2 separate regions of the Homo sapiens genome follow, and region 2 is linked to region 1. Evidence: promoter capture Hi-C in human tissues and cell types (Jung and others, 2019). All regions are on one chromosome and are shown on one strand. The core of a region is centred on a gene start or on the middle of the fragment in contact, and the rest is flanking DNA. Distances in the headings are between cores, read along the strand shown. Region 1 holds the start of FAM20A (FAM20A golgi associated secretory pathway pseudokinase). Region 2 holds the start of ABCA10 (ATP binding cassette subfamily A member 10).

The links. Contacts are between HindIII fragments. The study calls those that stand out against the background at their distance.
Region 2: a contact is called between a fragment that was not itself captured here and the fragment with the promoter of FAM20A in region 1, in 2 of the 25 tissues and cell types used here (dorsolateral prefrontal cortex and mesendoderm cells).

What each region holds. Positions count from the first base shown.
Region 1 is chr17:68,599,816-68,603,330 of GRCh38, forward strand. It overlaps FAM20A (FAM20A golgi associated secretory pathway pseudokinase), which reads right to left and starts at 1,552. Exons shown (of 11, transcript NM_017565.4): 1 at 448-1,552. The coding sequence starts at 851. The HindIII fragment of the contact is 4,098 bases long and covers 1-2,072 here.
Region 2 is chr17:69,225,702-69,229,216 of GRCh38, forward strand. ABCA10 (ATP binding cassette subfamily A member 10) reads right to left here and starts at 3,123. Exons shown (of 39, transcript NM_001377321.1): 1 at 2,880-3,123; 2 at 1,444-1,584. The HindIII fragment of the contact is 7,757 bases long and covers 1-3,515 here.

The sequences.
Region 1 (3,515 bases), core at 302-2,801:
GTTAAGTGCTGAATTTCAACTAGCTCTGGAGTCACCCTGTTTGGGGCCTCATTCTGGAAACCCGAAGTCCAGCGGCAGCTTTCCTCCACATCAGGACAGAGAGTGGGGTTTGGGAGCGGACGAGGGAGCGGGAGTGGACGAGGGAGCAGGAGTGGGGCTCAACGACGACCCAGGCGCTCAAGGGGAAGGGGCTGAGAGCGTTTCTTCGCTGTGCGGCTGCAATAGAAACTTTTTCCTCGTACTATCTGACTCCGGGACTGGACTGTGAGGTCTGCAACAGCTGGTGGGGTTCGGGTGGGGAACACACTCTAAGCCCAGCGCCAGGGCTGGAGCCGTGGGTGGAGCCGCTGCAGCCCTGGGCCGGGGGCGTCAGGAAACTCGAGACTGGGGCGCGGGGAGGCCCCGGCCAGAGCGCCCGCTCTCCCGCGTCCCGGGCGGGGTCCTCACCTGTTCCAGCGGGCCACCTTCCTCCGGTAATACCGCAGCGCCTCCTGGCTGGCCAGGAGCGAGTCCTCGGCTCCCAGGAGAGGCGGCTCCTCCGGGACGTTGTACAGCGGGTGGGCGAAGAGGGCCTGCAACTTGGAGCTCGACCCGCTGTGGCTGCCGCCAGCCGGTTCAGTCCGGGGCTCGGTTCGGGAAAAGTTGTGCACGATCGTGCCGGGGTCCGAGGCAGCTGCGGCCGAGTCCCGCGCCAGGGAGGAGGCGCGGCCGGTGCACGGGCACCCCCGCGGGCGCTCCCGAGGCCGCAGCTGGCGCTGTACTTGGGGCCAGAGGTGGAAGTAGAGGTCGGCGGAGAGCAGCGCGCCCAGCAGCAGCAGAGTCAGTAGGCGGTCCCGGCGCAGCCCCGGCATGGCGTGCTGGCCAAGGGGGACGCCGGGGGCAGGCCGGCTGTCTCCGGGGTCCCGGGAGGGGTCGCGGGGTGCGGGCAGAAGAGGTGCCTGGAGTCCCGCGGGTGGGCCGGGGTCAGTGAGACCGGAATGCTCCCCGCGCGGGCTAGTCCCCTGTGGAGGGGTGTCGCTCCTCAACTTGGGGACCAGGTGCACGGAGCACCGGGGCTCTCGGAGTCAGCGGGCGTCGCTTCTCCGCGCCGAGTGAGCCGAGGGAATGGGGTTCCCGGGGTGCCCGCTTCTTGCGCCTTTTCTCCCGTGCGCCCGCCCGCCCGGACGCTCGCGGCAGGTGAAGGGCCCCGGGGCGCCGGCGCCGGCTGCCACCGCGGGCGGACGGGCGACGGGGCGGGGGGCGACCGCGGAGGGCGGACGGAGGCCGCCGGCTGCAAAGCCCGGGGCGTCTCTCCTGAGGATGCTGTCGCTCGGCGGCGGCTGCTAGTGCTCCCGCGACTCCTCCTGCGGGCGGCGGAGACGCCAGTGCCGGCGGCTGGCACGGGCGGCGCGAGTGGGGAGTTGGCGAAGCAGGAGCGGCTCCGGGGAGCTTGTCTGTGCGCCTGGACTCCTAGAGGCAGAGGTAGCGCGGGGCCTCCCCGAGCCTGGCCTGGCGCCGGCACCCCCACCCACTCTCCGCTGGCACCTGCCTCTGGCGCAGCTGACGGCCAACTCCCGATCCGAAGCCGGCGCTGCCCTTGCACCTTGTCACCCACCCACTGCCTGCGCCCTCCCCCTCGCTCGGGCCTCCCACTTTCCCTGCCCAGGTCTCAATCCAGTCACTTTAAGGGACTCACGCGAGGGGTCCGAAGCCTCTTTTTACCATTTCTATTATTTTTAGGGAAAAAAAAACCACCACAAGCCCCCTAAAACCCTTTTTTTCCTGTAAGCTTTGCCAAATGAGTGTGTGGGGGGGGGTGGGGGGAGGCGGGGGTGGCAGTGTTGGTATCTGTTCTTTCTTTGTGTTCCCTTCCACCTCCGCCCCCCTGCAGAGCGCAGGGCACATCAAGATTCATAACAACTACCTACCACATGCCTGGCACATAGTAGGTGCTCAGGAAACACGCTCTTGGTGAAGGAAAGAGCTTGACCTTTAAAAGTAAGGTATCAGTTTTACCTAGAATCTTGCTGATTTCCTGTTTGGAAGGAGTTTGATTCCAACTCTGCCTGTACTTTAAAAAGAGGAAATGTTTCTTGCACTCAGGGAGGGAGGGGCCCTGATGACCCCACTCCGAACTTTTGAGTTTAGCTTGGTGTGAAAGTAGTCCACCCAAATGAATCACTGGAGGACACATTTAGGCTTTCTCCAATATTCTGTGAGGTAATGTACCCTCCCCACACCCAGTTTTCCTTTTGAAGAAGAGGGAGGGAGTCCTGAACTCCTGGCTCCTCTATTTAATGACCCCATAGTATAGTAAAGTGAAGTCTGATTGGAGAGGCGGCCCCACCCTGCTGAATTTCAGGAAATCCACCAGAAGCTGCTTGCCCAGGCAGCAAAGCTTCCCATGTAAGTTAGTTCTACTCTTTAACCCCCTCCCTTCCCTTGCTGGAATTGAGAACCCTCAGACATACTTTGACTTGTGGGTTCAGACCAGAGTTCTTTTCCCCGTGGTTCAGTGTAAGATTTCTTCGGGACTTTGCAGTCTCCTCAAATGTAAATGAAGATAATGATGGAACCTACCTCCTAAGGTTATTATGAGACTTAAATGAATTGAAGTACAATTATGTGTCACGTCTGAGAAATGCATCCTTAGGCAATTTTCCTGTGTGTGTGAACATCAGGGTGTACTTACACAAACCTAGATGGTTCAGCCTACTACACACGGAGGCTACATGGCATAGCCTGTTGATCCTAGGTACAAACCTGTACAGCATGCGACTACTGAATGCTGTAGGGAGTTGTAACACAGTGGTGAGTACTTGTGTGTCTAAACATAGGAAACATACAGTAAAAATACAGTATTGTAATCTTATGGGACCACTGTTGCATTGACTAAAATGTTATGTGGCACTTGACTATGTATAAATTACTTAGAAGAGCTCCTAACTCATCCTAAATAAGTGTGAAATATGTGTTTGCTATCATTATGATTACTTATTAGTTCCTGTAGTACACTAGGCTTGGTTAGAGACTGCTCATCGCTAGGACAAAAATAGAAAAGGATGGAAAAGGAAGATAGCAGGAAGGAACCTGCTTTCAGGGGCATAACATTGTGGCCTGAGTGCCCAGTCCAAGTGAAAAAGCCCAAGACGGTACTATTCCCAGCTACTCCACTCCTCTGGGTATGATGGTGGGCATTTTGAGGGGTTCTAGAACCTCCTCCTTTTTATCTGGAATTAAATTTTAACTGATTTCCAATTTCTGAGAGACGTTGCAACTTCTAATGTGTTTAATTAGATGTCATGGCAAGCGAATGAAGAAGTCAGGCATTGAATGGTGGTGATGTAACTGCAGTAACTGTGTGGCAAACTGATGCGCATTTTTCTCGGCTGGCAAAGGACGTGGATGTGGTGACACTGCAGGTCTTGTGACTTCAATTCTCCTCAACCCATGGGGTCATACTCGCTTAGTAGACTCTTTTTTTTCTGGCCCCAATTTAGGGAACAATAGTGTAACTTGCTTGGAAATTATGTAAA
Region 2 (3,515 bases), core at 751-3,250, 630 kb after region 1:
TCAAAAATACACAACTTTTGAGATAATATCAACAATTGCAATCAATCTTAACCCAGTGATTTAGCACCCCTATTAGTGGGACTGCCATTGATTTTATGCCCTCATATTTGAAGCAACGTAAGTATATGGCATCACACAGAAGATACTCTTGCCAAAAATATTTAACCAGAATTGGATCCTGCTTTTAGATCCAGCTCACTGCTTACAAAAAATATAGATGATAAAGGGATGACTTAAATGACAGCATGGAGAGGCAATCAGATAAAAAGAGAACATGGAATATTCAACAGGATAACTAGTTTTGTCTCATTGGTTCCTGAACAAATCAACCTTAAAAGACATTTTGGGGGAAATTTGGAAAATTGAATTTGGCCATGGAACTAGATGATATGGAATTATTTTTAATTTTGTGTAGTGGGATAGTGGTAATGTAGGGAACCAAGTTCTTAATTTTTTGAGATACTAAAATATTTAGCCATTACATATATTTTAGGGAAGAAGAGGAGACAGAGAGATGAAGCAAAGATGGCAAGATGTTAACAGCTGTCAAATCTGGATGGTGGATGTATAGGTGTTCATTGTACCAATATTTTCACATTTCTGGATTGACATACTTTTTTTAAATTCTAGTGAGTAATAAATATAGATGTATCCTTCTTCAATATACGAAGCAAAATATTTGATCGAACTGCTTCGGAAGCTATTGCAGAAATTTAAAAGGATGATATAAATCCTGTTAGCTCCCACTGAAATGGTACTGACTATTTCTGAACAGACTGCAATCTCTACATGGTCAAGGCAGATCCAGTTATATCTCATAGTAACACAAAGCAATGTCTTAATATTCATGTCAGCATACAAGAAACTCAACAGAATGCAAAGGTATTGACAATCTGTGATCTTATTCCATGAAACCATTCTATGTTTACAAAAAGCACGGCTTTGAAGAGATTCCAAAAAAGTTTGCAGATTTTTACTCATAGATATTTTCCCAGCCTTACCAAATAACATGACATTAATCGAAATGTCCCCAAATAGTATCAGGGTTTGCCCACGTAAAAATCTATTTTATTTTGCCTAGCTTATCTTTCCCCTGGCTGTCCCTGCCCCCAACACAGAAGTTAGCTAAGAGTAAATCAGAATGACTCTGAGATTTGAATGCATTAATTATGTGGAAAATGGCTGGTTCTATTCTGCAAAAGATTATTTTTCAGGAGCTGTCAGATGAGCTTTTTAGTTAATTTCACATTTGACACAAATATTATCCTATTTTGCAAAATATATATCGTTTTGCAGTATTTAGAATCTCAAATCAACTAGCCAGTATGATAATTAAAAATCAGAATTTATAAACAAGAAAAGTAATAAAAATGGCATAATACTATATGGTGGATTTTCATTTATTAATTATGGATATATATATATATATATAGTGAATCATACCAATAAACTCTCTTTTTATTCTCCATTTTTTAAGAAAATTCTTGTACAGAAGAGCCTGAATTTGTTGACGCACGCTTATCTCTTTTTTAACCATTTTGTCCTGTTCATTAACAGGGTAAAGTAAATATTGCAGAGCAATAGCTAGGGGAAAAAAGAAAAAAAAAAAGTTCAGTTACAGAAAGCCTTTGAACATTTTGAAAGCATAATTTTCAGATGTGCCAACTAAATGCCTTATATGACACTGTAGCAACATATTCAATCAGGATTTTAAAAAAGAATATAAAGTATTAGTAATTATAAAATGTCTTCTCAGTTGTTATTTCTCTCCAGGCTTTTATGGCTATGAGGGAGATAAAGGAGATAGTATATAAGACCTTTCTCCTTTTGTCTCAGAAGTCACTTTTTTTCCATGAAATCTTAACATTACATCCACCTAAAGTAAATCCCTCAATAAGATCTTAGTAATTTTTAGAATCCAAAAAACACTTTCTCTTTACTTGTTAAGAAAAAGAAGTTTAACAGGAAGAAACCACTTTGCAGTTCCTTGTCAGTCAGCAATTTGACCACAAGCTGTCTTATTTTGAATTGCACATCTGGGCACATGTATTTGATATCTTGTTAACCACTGGGCAAAGCAAAGTCGAAAACATTACGGCCATTCTTAGAATCCCAAAAAGCTAATTCCTCTTTTTTAAATCTCCATTTATGAAGTAAATATGTAAGATACATACAGATTAAAACCAAAAATATTGGCTAATATGACTAGAGTAATTGATTTGTAATAATGATCCTTATTCTTTGTTTTCAATTTGAAAATCCAGAGCTGATCATTTGGTGTCACAACTATGACTACTGAAGTCCATTTGAATAAATGTTGATATTATATACAAATTACAATGTTCAGAGAGAACTTGCTATATTTCCCCTTTTTCATAAAATAAAAGGCAAAGCCAGCAAAACCCAATATAATCTCTAAATTCTAACTTAAGAAAGTAGAAACATTAAAACACCAATCTTCACTTTATGGATACAGAGGTCTACTTAAACAGCTCCATAAGCAAACCACAAAAACATTTTAAAAGAACAAAAGAACACAGAAAAAAGGAACTTGCCCTAATGCTCACACATTCTAAAGAAGTAAAACCATACAAATTCTCAAAAGGATATTCAAAGCAGTGTCAGAGAGAGAATTTATTGTCTGATAATATTTATATACACCTCTGAATCTAGCCATCTTTCATTTATCACACTAAAATGTTACATAAGTTTTTAAAATAAAATAACTCACTAGTACTATAACATAAAGCATAAAATAATTTAGAGCATCTGAATAATATAATTTTAAAAATTTCAATCAATATGTTTGGCTTTGGCTATATACTTTATATCTTTAAAACCTTATGCAAAGTGAAAATGTAAAACAAATTTTAACTTACAGTTAAGAAAATAAGAGAGAAGTATTTGAAGCACTTGGATCCACTGGTCTCTTTTTGTCCAAGAAAACAATGAAGAATCCTTCAAGGACTCCTCTACAAATGGTTGCCTCTTTTAAAACTGTTTTGATTCAGCTTGGCTTCTGAAAAGCCATGGTCTGTGTGTAGAACATGCCAACAAATTCTGTTGGTTTTTTCCCTATGTTTTTCTCCTTGTCCAGTTACTCTTCAGAGAGTGTAATGAATTGTTGGCTGAGCGCATCATTGGTATTTGTTTATTGCTCTTTTTGGCATACACACAAAAAAAGAGATCAAATTCAAAAAGAAAAACCCACATATTTACAATTGCATGGATAACTACATATTTACAATTGCATGACTTTTAATAATTAAAAATTTGACAGCCAAGCTAAAAAAGGAGCAAATTAAAGATAAAGTTGAACAGAGAGAGAGAAAATGAGGATTGCTCATCTCAGAAATCTGAATCATTCCAATGAGAAAGTTTCATCTGAAAGTTAACTGCATTTCAGTTAAATGGTTCCTTGTATTCACTAATTCCTATGTACTAGAAAGTGTTCTAAGGGTTTAAATGAATTCTCCCATTTGATACTCAAAGCAAACCTACAAAGTTGGTACTCT